Regions from separate parts of the Homo sapiens genome. Here region 1 is linked to region 2. The links are contacts of gene promoters, found by promoter capture Hi-C in human tissues and cell types (Jung and others, 2019). All regions are on one chromosome and are shown on one strand. The core of a region is centred on a gene start or on the middle of the fragment in contact, and the rest is flanking DNA. Distances in the headings are between cores, read along the strand shown. Region 1 overlaps SMC1B (structural maintenance of chromosomes 1B). Region 2 holds the start of SMC1B (structural maintenance of chromosomes 1B).

What was found. Contacts are between HindIII fragments. The study calls those that stand out against the background at their distance.
Region 1: a fragment that was not itself captured here is called in contact with the fragment with the promoter of SMC1B in region 2 in 1 of the 25 tissues and cell types used here (IMR-90 fibroblasts).

The regions. Positions count from the first base shown.
Region 1 is chr22:45,364,157-45,370,936 of GRCh38, reverse strand. It overlaps SMC1B (structural maintenance of chromosomes 1B), which reads left to right. Exons shown (of 25, transcript NM_148674.5): 15 at 877-983. Among named protein-coding and RNA genes, the nearest start is that of SMC1B, 46 kb to the left of the region's middle. The HindIII fragment of the contact is 7,660 bases long and covers 437-6,780 here.
Region 2 is chr22:45,408,837-45,415,753 of GRCh38, reverse strand. SMC1B (structural maintenance of chromosomes 1B) reads left to right here and starts at 2,155. Exons shown (of 25, transcript NM_148674.5): 1 at 2,155-2,295; 2 at 6,856-6,917. The coding sequence starts at 2,187. It overlaps RIBC2 (RIB43A domain with coiled-coils 2), which reads right to left and starts at 2,061. Exons shown (of 7, transcript NM_015653.5): 1 at 1,739-2,061; 2 at 1,351-1,432. The coding sequence starts at 1,867. RefSeq lists an enhancer at 1,239-2,072. The HindIII fragment of the contact is 17,180 bases long and covers 1-6,917 here.

The sequences.
Region 1 (6,780 bases), core at 3,017-5,516, 47 kb after region 2:
CATTGCTTTTAGGCCTGACGTTTACCACGATTTGGAACCACACTTACGTTACTTCCTAATTAGTTATCTCTTTTCCAGGTTAAATATCCCTAGTTTCTTTATTCATTTCACATTACCATGGATTTAAGACCAGCTCTGGTAACCATCCTCTGGATGTTATCAATGCCCCTGAACAGAGCATGATGTCAAAATATTGTCTGTACAGCATATTGTGGGTCTGTATGTTTATAACTGTAACTTTCCATGACTTGGATTATCTAGTCATGCTAACTGTAGCTTACTACTGCGTCAGTCATACCACATTCATATTTAATGTATATTCAACTAAAATCTGAAAGTTTTTAAAAATGTCCTGTTCTTAAAATAGTTCTTTCTCATCCTATAATTATACATAAAATGAGAGCTTTAAAACATTGAGGTTAAATTTTACTTTGTTGAATTTCCCCATTCTAGCTTTTCCAAGTCTTTTTCATTCTTAATTCTATGCCCCATTCCACTTGTTACTATACTGGCAAAGGTGCTATTGTATTACTCATACATAAAGAATCTTTCCTTTATTTATGTAGAATGTAATATTTTTGTGGGTCTAAAGTAAAAGGAATTCTTCCAGTTTTATACTAAACATTCATAAAGCCAAAGCACTTAATAAGGCCAATTATGATCTTTCTTAGTTTTTTTGAATAAGAAATTTGAAAGTAGATGGCATAATTTATGGAATTAAAGGAAAAAAAAGTACTGGCTTCTCAGAATACAGTAATGCTTGGTGGGATTAGTTTTTGGCCTAATTCAGGAAAATCTTGGAGGGAAAAACATATTTAAGATTATATATTTCTTAAAATTGCTTATTAAATCAATTGTTTTAAAATAATTTAAAAGGTAGAAGACGATATCTTCCAACACTTCTGTGAAGAAATTGGCGTGGAAAATATTCGTGAATTTGAGAACAAACATGTTAAACGGCAACAAGAAATTGATCAAAAAAGGTATTTTTATAAAAAGATGTTGGTAAGGAGCTTACATATTTATAAAAATAGTTATTATTTCATAATTTAGAGGAATTATGCCTGAGTTTCATTTCATCAAGAAACAGCTAGGCCGGGCACGGTGGCTTACGCTTGTAATCCCAGCACTTTGGGAAGCCAAGGCAGGCGGATCACGAGGTCAGGAGATCGAGACCATCCTGGCTAACATGGTGAAACCCCGTCTCTACTAAAAATACAATAAAAATTAGCCAGGCGTGGTGGCAGGTGCCTGTAGTCCCAGCTACTCGGGAGGCTGAGGCAGGAGAATGGTGTGAACCCAGGAGGCGGAGCTTGCAGTGAGCGGAGATTGCGCCACTGCACTCCAGCCTGGACGATGGAGCGAGACTCCATCTCAAAAAAAAAAAAAAAAAAGAAACAGCTAGTAAAAATTTATATTCTTACAAAGAGATCTAACTTTTTTGTTCCATAATTTTTTAAAGAGAGAAAGCATAAATACACAAAATAAGAGAATAGGGGCATAATTACACGTATACTGGTTATTAAAAGAATAAGACAATAGGCCAGGTGCAGTGGCTCATGCCTGTAATCCCAGCACTTTGGGAGGCCGAGGCAGGCGGATCATGAGGTCAGGAGATAGAGACCATCCTGGCTACCACGGTGAAACCCCGTCTCTACTAAAAATACAAAAAATTAGCTGGGCATGGTGGCAGGCGCCTGTAGTCCCAGCTACTCGGAAGGCTGAGGCAGGAGAATGGCATGAACCTGGGAGGTGGAGCTTGCAGTGAGCCGAGATCGTGCCACTGCACTTAGCCTGGGCGACAGAGCAAGATTCCGTCTCAAAAAAAAAAACAAAAGAATGAGACAATAATTTGCTTGTCTGTAAATATTCATATATGTAGATAGTAAGTGGTAATTTTCAAGAAATAATATATTACCAAAAATTATCTCAAGATAGAAAAATCTAAGATGGCCAGTTACAATAGGAAGAGAAAGTAAAAAGGCTTCCTACCCACCCCATTGCCAAATACACCAGGTACAGATAGCTTCACAGGTGAATTATCTCAGCAGACTTTAAAGGCACATGTAACTTCAGTGTTTAATGTCTAAACAGATGTTCAATATTAAAACTGTTTCAGCCCAGGTGTGGTGGCTCACGCCTGTAATTCCAACACTTTGGGAGGCCGACCGAGGCAGGTGGGTCATGAGGTCAGGAGTTCAAGACCAGCCTGGCCAAGATGGTAAAACCCCATCACTACTAAAAATACAAAAATTAGCCAGGCGTGGTGGTGGGTGCCTGTAATCCCAGCTCCTTTGGAGGCTGAGGCAGAGAATTGCTTGAACCCAGGAGGCAGAAATTGCAGTGAGCCGAGATCATGCCAGTGCACTCCAGCCTGGGTGACAGAGCGAGACTCGGTCTCAGAAAAAAAAAAAAAAAACTATTTCAGAATGTAGAAGAGGAAAAAATGCATCTTTTTATGAAAGGAACATAATACTGATTCCAAAATTCAAAAAAGTATACATACAATAAGAAACTGTAAATCAATGTCACCTATAAATAACCAAGTAAAACAAGGTTAAATACAAATCAGCAGTACAACAACAAAATAATGTACCATTATCTAGTGGGCTTTATATCAGAACTATAAGGATGGTTCTGTATCAGGAAATCTATTGTTTAATTCACCATATTAAGAAAGAATCATATGATCAACTCTAAGGATGATGAAAAAACACTTGACAAAATTCAGCATTTATTCTTGGTTGAATATTCTTAAGATGTGAATAGTTAAGATACCTATGATATGAAAAAATACATCTCAGAAATCAGCATTGTGGTTTCATGGTTTCACTTCCTAGTAATGTCAGAAATTAGAGATACTCAGTATCACTATTATCTAATATTATTCTAGAGATACTAGTCAATAAAGTTAGACAAGAAAAATAAAGTATACAAATTTGGCAGTGACATCACCAAAATGTCAGAATAGAATCAAGCTGGCTTCACTGCTTCCCAGAGAAAACCATAAACAAATATACAGTGCTGAGATTGTCACCAGCAATATCCCAGAATTCAAAAACAAGAATGAGACAGTTCCTGAAGCCACAGAGAAGTGAAAAATCTTGCAGACAATAAGAGAATTGGACTTACATCTGTGGTGCCCTTATCCCAATATGTCAGGCACCAAGTGTGCAGAAAAATTTCCCCTGACTCGTGGTTACTACCCTGGAAAGAGTGAGATCAAGGTGGACAACCAGCTTCCTCACCATCTTGGGTTCCCTGGCAAGGGGCCTGTCCCTGCCTCAGCCCATAGGAAGTATCACTGAAGGGAGAAAAGTTCCTGAGGACCGACAGACAAAGCAGTGAAGCAGGACTAGCATCCCCAGTCCAGGAAACTCTGCTGTGTAACTTGGTCAAAGGAGACACCAAATTAGAGTGGCTGTTCAGCAGCATCACACAGCAACACCACACAGAGGTAGGTTCCATAGGTCCCCTGGGCACCAGCCTGTAGCCAGCCTTCCCAAATTGTCAGGATATCCCCTTTAGGATCTCCCCCATGCAAGATAGGCAACGCTCCAAAGTTTGCTGGAGCTGAAGCAAACCTGAGCTTAAGGCATCACCTGGTGCCAAAAAGCAGGCAGTGAGCCTATCAGCGGGGAAAAAAGAAAAGGTACCCAACAGGTATATTGCAAATTTCTAAGCAAACATACCAAATAAAAAAACAAAAACAAGCCAGACAGAGATAATCCTTTAATGTGAAGAGATAGATGTACATCCACAAGAAACAATAGCAAACGGGGAACCATGACCTCCCAAAACAGACAAAGCAAGGAGCCAGTAACTGAGCCTAGTGAGACTAGTAGGCAAGCTCTCTGATCAAGAACTTAAAATAGAAGTTTTAAGGAAACTTGGTGATCTCCAAAATAACAGAAAAGCAACTCAGAAATTTATCGGAGAAGCTTAACAAAGAGATTGAAATGCTGGAACTGATAAATACATTTGCTGAACTGGAAAATTCCTTAGAGGCTGTTAACAGCAGAATGGATCAAGCAGAGGAAAGAATCAGTAAGCCTGAAGATAGGCTACAGGAAAAGACAGAAGAGAAAAAAAGAATGAAAGGAATGAAGAATGCCTACAAGATATAGAAAATTATCTCAAGAGCAAATCTAAGAATTATCTGTGGCTGAGTGCAGCGGCTTATGCATGTAATCCCAGCACTTAGTTTTTTGGAGTTTTGCCACGTTGGCCAGGCTAGTCTCAAACTCCTGACCTCAGGTGATCCATGCACCTCGGCCTCCCAAAGTGCTGGGATTACAGGTGTGAGCCACCACACCCAGCCAGATTTTACTTAATGTATTTTCAAGCCTTGTTATTAGGTGCATACATATTTGGGATCACTGTCTTTTTGATGAATTAATTCATCATCATAAAATGCCCCCTCTTTAACCTTGTCATATTTCTTCTTCTGAGGTAAACTTTGAACTTGTCTAGTTATATGACTTTAAGTAACATTTATATACTGACATTCCCAAAATTTGTACCTTTAGCCTGGACCTCTTATTTAGACTTGCTTTCTAAATAATTCTGCCTATTACAATGTTTATTGAGGTTCTCACAAAAATCCAACTGGAGGCTGGACATGGTAGCTGACACCTGTAATCCTAACAATCTGGGAGCTCGAGGCAGGCGGATCACCTGAGCTCAGGAGTTTGAGACCAGCCTGGGCAACATGGCGAAACATCATCTCTACTAAAAATACAAAAATTAGCTGGGCGTGGTGGCACATGCCTGTAGTCCCAGCTACTCAGGAGGTTGAGGCAAGAGAATTGCTTGAACCTGGGAGGCAGAAGTTGCAGTGAGCCAAGATCGTTCCACCAGATTCCAGCCTAGGTGACAGAGGGAGACTCTGTCTCAAAAACAAACAAACAAACAAACAAACCCAAAAAACAACCAAAATGGAATTCTAATTGAGATTGCATTGGATTGATAGATTTGTGGAGAATTGATACCTTCAAAATATTGTCATCCCATCTAAAAACATAGAATGTCTCTCCATTTATTCTAATCATCTATATCCTTTATTAGAATTTTGGAGTTTTTTCCCATAGAGATCTATGTTTTCTTATTAATTTCTAGATAATTATAGGGTTTATTTTTTTCTTGTGAATAGTATGTGTTTTTATGATGCTTTTGCTAGTTGGTTTCTACTAGTGTAGAAAAATAATCTCAAATTTTATTTTATCTTTATTAATTCAGGGTCTCACTCTGTCAACCCAGGCTGGAGTGCAGTGGCACAATCTTGGCTCACTGCTACCTCTGCCTCCTGGGCTCAAGTGATCTTCCTACCTCAGCCTCCCAAGTAGCTGGGACCACAGGTGTGTGCCAACATGCCCAGCTAATTTTTGTATTTTTTGTAGAGATGGGGTTTTGCCATGTTGCCCAGGCTGGTCTTCAATTCCTGGGATCAAGCGATCTGCCAACCTCAGCCTTCCAAAGTGCCCGGGATTACAGGTGTGAGCCACCATGCTCGGCCTAATCTCAAATTTTAGATTGATCTAACATCTAGTAACTTTGCTAAATCCTCTGTTACTTCTAGTGGCTTATTCACTGTGTATTCTAGGTACTGAGTTTGTGATGTCTGTGATATCCAGTTAGAGGTATAGAATGGGTAGCTGAATACACAAGTTAGGAGTTCAAAGGCGAGGCCCAGGCTAGAGGTATAAATTTTGGGAATGTCCGTATATAAATGGCACTTGAAGTCATGTAACTACACAAGAGCAACAACGGAATGAATGTGGATAGAAAGGAGAAGAGATCCGGCCGGGTGCGGTGGCTCATGCCTGTAATCCCAGCACTTTGGGAGGCTGAGGTGGGCGGATCACGAGGTCAGGCGATCGAGACCATCCTGGCTAACACGGTGAAACCATGTCTCTACTAAAAATACAAAAAATTAGCCGGGCGTGGTGGCAGGTGCCTGTAGTCCCAGCTACTTGGGAGGCTGAGGCAGCAGAATGGCGTGAACCCGGGAAGCGGAGCTTGCAGTGAGCCGAGATCGTGCCACTGCTCTCCAGCCTGGGCAACAGAGCGAGACTCCATCTCAAAAAAAAAAAAAAAAAAAAAAAAAAAAAAAGGAAAAGAGATCCTACAAGATGTTAGCAAGTCGAAGAGATGAGAAAGAACCATTAAAAGAGCAGCTAGTTGGGGGAAAGGAAAGCCAGGGTAATGTGACACCCCAAAGCCAAGTGAAGAAGCGTTCCACTTCTACATCATCTGTATGTCTGCCTCCTGCAGCACAAATAAATTTCTTAAGCTCTCCTACAGGCAGTGTGGTCACGGATTAAGAGCAGGGATTCTGTTGTCCCCCTGTCTGAGTGTGTCATCCCTGGCTCTACCACTAAGTGGGTAGCCTTGGGCAAGTTGCTTAGCTCTCTGTTCCTTGGTCTTCTCATCTGTTAAATAAAGATGATAATATTACTGACCTAGTAGAGTTTTAAAACTTGTAAGTTAATTCATGTAAAAACTTTTATAACACTGTCAGGTATATAGTAACCTCTCATTAAATAGTTATTAATGTTTTAATTGTTATAGTTGTTTTTATATTAGCAGTATCTAGCACAATAGCTGTTAGTACTTAAAAATGTTTCTCGAACAAATGATTCTGTTAGCAGGGTGTGGTGGGGGGGCAGGGTGAGCATGGAAAGGATGAGCTACAGTTGACAATGGAATTCTTTATGAGGAGTTTATGAAGCTGGCAAAGTAGGAATGAACGTTCCCAAGTTTGGTGTTTATATAAGAATA
Region 2 (6,917 bases), core at 906-3,405:
CTCTCCAGCCTGGAAGACAGAGCAAGACTCCATCTCAAAAGAAAATAGAAAAAAAAGCATGGGAATGATAAACACTTCTGAGGAGAAAGGAGGGGAAAATTAAGAGGTAGGGGGCAGGGCAGTGTTGTTATATATATATATATATATATACACATATATAAAAAACACAATTCTCAAAAAACACTGAAGATATCTGAAGCCAATCTGGCAAAATGTTAACATCTAGTCTGATGGTGGGTACATATGTACCTGTCACATTGTTTTTGTAAGATTGAATTACCTCATAACTAAAAATATTAATAAAAAAGATAAAATGTTTAGAACATACAGAACAGTATAAAGGAGAAAATAAAGTTTACTCATAATTCTATCCCTCCAACATTACCCTGCTAACATTTTGGCATATTTCCTCTCTTCTTCTTCTGAGCATATTTTAAAATATTTTAAAAACATAACAGCCCATTGTATGTACAATTTTGTATCCTGCTTTTTTTTCTATTATAAAAATCTTTATGGTGTTTAAAAACACTGAAATTTCTTTTTTTTTTTTTTTTCAATTTATTTTTTGTAGAGATGGGGTCTCGCTTTGTTGCCCAGGCAAGTCTGGAGCTCCTGGTCTCAAGTGATCCTCTAGTTTTAGCCTCTCAAAGTGTGAAATTTCAACAATTGTTGAAATTGTTGGACACGATAGGGGAAAATAAGTTGTATTTGAAGTGGAATAATAATACCTTGAATAACAGTATTCAAGGTACTTGAATACTATGATTTGAATCATGTCTGTCTCTGAGTCAGCTTGAGGGTGTGAGCCCGGACATATGTGTTGTCTGGTATAAACAGCTGTCCTTCATAGACGGTCTTAAACTTTTGAGCAGAGCAAGTGAGTGTGTGTGTGTGTCTTTCTGTGTTTAAGGCTTTTCCTATCCAGTTTTTTAAGAAAATGAAGGAAAACATACATATACCCTTAAAATCTATTTCTTATAATCCACATTCGAATTCAATAGCTGTTTTTAAGAGAAGAATCAGTGCATTAAGTTAACTGGGCACAAGAAATTGTGAAATTTAAAAGGAAGAAGAGTGTGAAAATGACAACTTTTTATATATGTGAAGAAAGGAGGGCTGGGTACCGTGGCTCATGCCTGTAGTTCCAGCACTTTGGGAGACTGACGTGGGAGGATCACTTGCACGCAGGAGTTCCAGACCAGCCTGGGCAACATAGTGAGACCCTATCTCTATTAAATAAAAAAAATAAAAAATAAAAAAAAAAAGGCGGGGCAGGGGGACGGTGGGGAAGACTGGAGTCTAAAGCCACACAATCCTAAACCAATAGATAAGCATTCAGGAAATGCTCACCAAAGGTTTCATGTCTAGCTTTTTCAGTAGCTTCTTTTATCTTCTGGTCATGAACTTGAACATCCCAGGCTTCAGTGTCTCCCTATAAATGGAAAAACAGAGGAGAAGGGTTAGAGCCAGATCATTTTATTCAGTAATAACAATCCTACTTATTATTATTTTTAATCTCTGCCCCACTGTAAACGAGTTGTAGAAAATCTGGCTCAGGGGAGGAGAACCGTTGGTGACTCCAGGCGAGCTCGAGAGGGAGCATTATTGGCCCTGCAGGAGGCCGTTTGCTGCCTCCTGGCTCAGATGTTTCATCCTAGAACTCATCTCCTTTCCCCCTCCACGCAGCCCCTCGCCCGCATCTGCCGCTCTAACCCCGTCCCGGCCCCTGCCCTTTCACCCCAATTATCCTGTTTCTGGCGTTGAAGACCCGCTTCTGCCTGCACAGCTCCGCGTGCCTCCTCTTTGCCAGGTTGGCGTCCTGCCGCAAGTCCCTGGGCAGCGCCACCGCCATGGTCTGGGAACCCATGGAAAGCCTAAGGGGTTTTTAGAACACGCAGGATCAGGAGAACAGGCGACGAAAATAAGGAAGCTGTAGCGCAGGCAAGGTCGGCTCCTTCGGTCGGGCAGGGGAAAGACAAGCCTTTAGCGCAGTTTTCCGTCGGGCTCCCAGTGACGCCGCAGAGGTACAGACGCTCCCGCTCTCTCGGAAATGTCAACAACTCGTTGCTAAGGAACGGCTCCGCGCTTGCCGCGTCTCGCTCTCTTCTCGCGACACTTGGCGAATCCCTTCCCGCGCTTTTTCCGCGGGCGCTTGATAACGCGGGTGAGGCGTGGAGGGCGGCGCCATGGCCCACCTGGAGCTGCTGCTTGTGGAAAATTTCAAGTCGTGGCGGGGCCGCCAGGTCATTGGCCCCTTCCGGAGGTTCACCTGCATCATCGGCCCCAACGGCTCTGGTAACTGAGCAGCTCAGGGCGCCACCGGAGCGCCTCCGCCGTCCCAGGCGTCCAGGCCACACGTGGCCTGTGGGGTGTGGGCGTCTGCCGCGGGCGCCTGGCCGGCCTTCCCCTTCCAGTCCCGGAGCCTGACCGCGACCGGATCCCGGCCTGGCCCTGGCCCAGCCCCTGCCCATCACCCCACCTCAGCCCCGGTCCTCGCCGTCCACCTCAGGGGTCCCGACCCTTGTCCCTCCGCCCCACCTCGGAGGTCCTGACCCTTCCACTCGGCCCCGCCTCGGGCCCCGCTCTCGCCCTCCACCTCCTGGCTCCCGACCCTCCTCCGACACCCTGAGGGACCCCACCCCACCTCAGCTCCGGCCCTCGCCCTTCATCTCAGGGGCTCCCAACCCTCGCCCCCCACCCTGGGGGTCCTGACGCTTCCTCTCCGCCCCGGTCCCGCCCTGGGCCCTGTTCTCTGCCCTCACTCCTGCTTCGGGGACTGCTCTTGCCCTTGGCCCTGGTCACTCGCGTCCCTTTTCCCTTCTCATCCGAAGTTGAAGTGAGAGGGAGCTGTCGAGGAGGTAATGGGTTCCAAGCAGCCAGAACCACCATTTGGATCCAAGGGAGCTTTGACCCAGGAATGTAGTGATGATGACCCAGTTTACTGAGCTTTTCCTAAGTTCCTGGCGACACCGTCTTTGGTTAGCCATGGCGCATGGCTGCTCTCCCCATTTTATAGTTGGGGAAACTGAGGTCTGGAGAGGCCAGAGGACCTGCGGAGGTCTCTACTAATAATACCAAAATTAGCTGGGTGTGGTGGCACACGCCTGTAATCCCAACTACTCTGGAGGCTGAGGCGGGAGAATCGCTTGAACCTGGGAGGTGGAAGTTGCAGTGAGCCAAGGACACGCCATTGCACTCCAGCCTGGCAACACAGTGCGACTCTCGTCTCAAAAAAAAAAAAAAAAAAAAAAAAAAGGCTGGGCGCGGTGGCTCACACCTGTAATTCCAGCACTTTAGGAGGCCGAGGCGGGTGGATCATGAGATCAGGAGTTCGAGACCAGCCTGACCAACATGGTGAAGCCCTGTCTCTACTAAAAATACAAAAATTAATCGGGTGTGGTGACATGCACCTGTAATCCCGGCTACTGAGGAGGCTGAGGCAGGAGAATCGCTTGAACCCGGGAGGCAGAGGTTGCAGTGAGCCAAGATAGCACCACCGCACTCCAGCCTGGGTAACAAGAGCGAGACTTCGACTCTAAAATAAAATAAAATAAGATAAATATAAAATAAAATTGGCCGGGCGCCGTGGCTCATGCCTATAATCCCAGCACTTTGGGAGGCCGAGGCGGGCGGATCACCTTAGGTCAGGAGTTAGAAACCAGCCTGGCCAACATAGTGAAACCCCTGTCTGTACTAAAAATACAAAAATTAGCTGGGGGTGGTGTCACGTGCCTGTAATACCAGCTACTTGGGAGACTGAGGCAGGAGAATCACTTGAACCCGGGAGGCGGAGGTTGCAGTGAGCCAAGACTGTGCCACTGCATTCCAGCCTGGGCGACAGAGCAAGACTCTGTCTCAACAAAAAAATAAGGCCTGACATGGTGGCCCACACCTGTAATTCCATCACTTTGGGAGGCTGAGGCAGGCAGATCACTGGAGGTAGGGGTTCAAGACCAGCCTGGCCAACATGATGAAACCCCATCTGTACTAAAAATACAAAAAAGCCTGGCGTGGTGGCGCACGCCTGTAGTCCCAGCTACTCAGGGGACTGAGGCAGGAGAATCGCTTGAACCTGGGAGGCAGAGGCTGCAGTGAGCTGACATCACGCCACTGCACTCCAGCCTGGGCAACAACAGAACAAGACTGCATCTCAAAAATAAATAAGTAAAAATAAATAAATAAATAAAATGCACCGTTCAGTGGTTTTTAGTATATTCAAAAGTTGTGCAACCATCATCACCATCTACTTCCAAAACATTTTCATTGCCCCCAAAGAAACCTTGTACTCATTAGCAATCACTCCCTGTTATTTCCTCTCCACCTAGCTCCTGGTATCTACTAATTCACTTTCTGTCTCTATGGATTTACCTATTTGGGACATTTCGTATAAATAGAATCAGACAATATATGGCCTTTTGTGTCTGACTTCTTTCACTTAGCATAATGTTTTTCAGATTCATCTATGTTGCTCCTTGTATTAGTACTTATTTCCTTCTTATTTTCAAATAATATTTCACTGTATAGATATACTACATTTTGTTTATCCATCAGTTGATAGTTTGGGTTGTTGCCACTTTGTGGTATGTTATGCTGCCTTGACTCTCTTGACAGACTATAACCTTTATTAGGCAGGGACAATATTAATGAAATTTAATGGAATAAATGGATTTGGATGAGAAGTATTTATTTTAGGCAGATTTAAATAAGGATTGACTTATTGATTTTAAAAGTTTATGTTTAGTTTTGTTACTTAATACTTAAATTACTTAATAATTTAATTCAGTGAATGTTTATCTTGTCCATATGCACTGTCTTACAATAGCCCTCAATGTGCAGATTATCCATTAACCCAAAAAAGCCGTTTCATACCTGTTAGTTGACTGAGACTCAGCTAAATAAATTTGCAGCAATTTATTTCTAGTTCTTTTTAGAAAGACCCTAAACCTCTAAAACTAAGCCATATTTCCGGTGGCTGATAGTATTCCTTTGCTTTGTTTATGTTACTTTCCTAGTTTTGGCATTGAAAATTAATTAATTATTTCTTTTGTCTTGAGATGGAGTCTTGCTCTCTTGCCCAGGCTGGAGTACAGTGGTGTAATATCAGCTCACTGCAACCTCTGCCTTCTGGATCCAAGTGATTCTTCTGCCTCAGCCTCCCGAGTAGCTGGGATTACAGGCGCACGCCACCACAGCTGGCTAATTTTTTGTATTTTAGTAGAGACGGGGTTTCACCATGTTGGTCAGGCTGGTCTCGAACCCCTGACCTCGGGTGATCTTCCTGCCTCGGCCTCCCAAAGTGCTGGGATTACAGGTGTGAGCTGCTGCGCCCAGCCTGAAAATTTAAACTGCTTTGTGGATATAGGGGAAGGGATGTGAAAAGGAGAAATAATAGTGATGGTGACAGCTGCATTGACATTGCACCTTGGAAATTGTCTTAGAGAAAATTATGGGCCAATGATTGGGTAACAGATTTAACATTGGGGTTAGGAATGCCCACAACTACCCTTAGGTTCAGTAATTTGTTGGGAAAACTCACAGGATTCTACATATAGTTTGACTCAATACTATTATTTATTACAGTGAAAAAATACAAAGCGAACTCAGCAAAGGGAAAGGATATATGAGGCAAAGTCTTAGGAAACCAGTTGCAAGATTCCAAGTCCTTACCCATTGGTGTCACTCAGTGCTTCATTCCTCCAGCAGCTAGTCCACACATGTGAAATGTTGCCCACCAGGGAACCTCACTAAAGACTCAATGTGCAGCGTTTTTATCGGGAGATTGTCACATAGGCACCGTTTGCCTATCATGTACCCAAGTTCCAGAATCTTCTTAGGCCAGACCTTCCTCAAAAGAAATTATAAAATAATATTCCAGAATCCTAGAAAGAAAGCATATGTTCAGATTAAATCATATTGTTTGTACAGATAGTTTAGGCACTGTGAGCCATTCTTAATAGGGAATGTTAGAAACCCTCCCAACATCCAAATCCAAATCCCTGTAAGCCAGCCAACCTTGTAAGTAGGACTTTCAAAAGATAACAGTATCAAGCCTGCTATATAAATTTTCTGTAGCACCATCTCATACCAATCAAACAATTTTAATCTAGCCCTCGATCCTGGATTTAGTTAGCTTCTCTTGTTTTTATTTATTTATTTATTTATTTATTTATTTATTTATTTATTTATTTAGAGTTGGAGTCTCTCCTCGTTGCCCAGGCTGGAGTGCAGTGGTGCAATCTCGGCTCACTGCAACCACCGCCTCCTAGGTTCAAGCAATTCTCTTGCCTCAGCTTCCTGAGTAGCTGGGACTACAGGTGCGTGCCACCAAGCTCGGCTATTTTTTATATTTTTTGGTAGAGAGGGGGCTTCACCGTGTTGGCCAGGCTAGTCTCGAATTCTTGACCTCAGGTGATCTGCTCACCTTGGCCTGCCAAAGTGCTAGGATTATAGGCATGAGCCACCGCGTCCAGCCTTAGCCTCTCTTTTTTAGAGTATAAGAGGATTTGGTGCTGCACCAATGCTTTAGGTAGTTTCCATATTTATAAAATGAGGATAATTGAAACTCAGTGAAGTTAAATGATTTGCCATGGTGTGATACCTAACAATGGAAGAGAGCTGGGATTTAGATAGGTGTATTTCAGTCCTTAAATTTAGACCTCTTAATAGTCTACAATAGATGCATAGAAGAAATGAGTTATCTACATCAAATATTTCAGTCATGCATTTTGAACATTGATTAAAAAGGACATGTCTTTTGGCTATATTTCACTTCGATTGGTGGCCTGATTTCTTCAGCTCTGGGTAGGGCTTTTTATCATTAAGAATGAATAATGTTTTATCTCTTTTCTTCCCCAGGAAAATCTAATGTAATGGATGCACTTAGTTTTGTAATGGGAGAGAAAATAGCTAATTTAAGA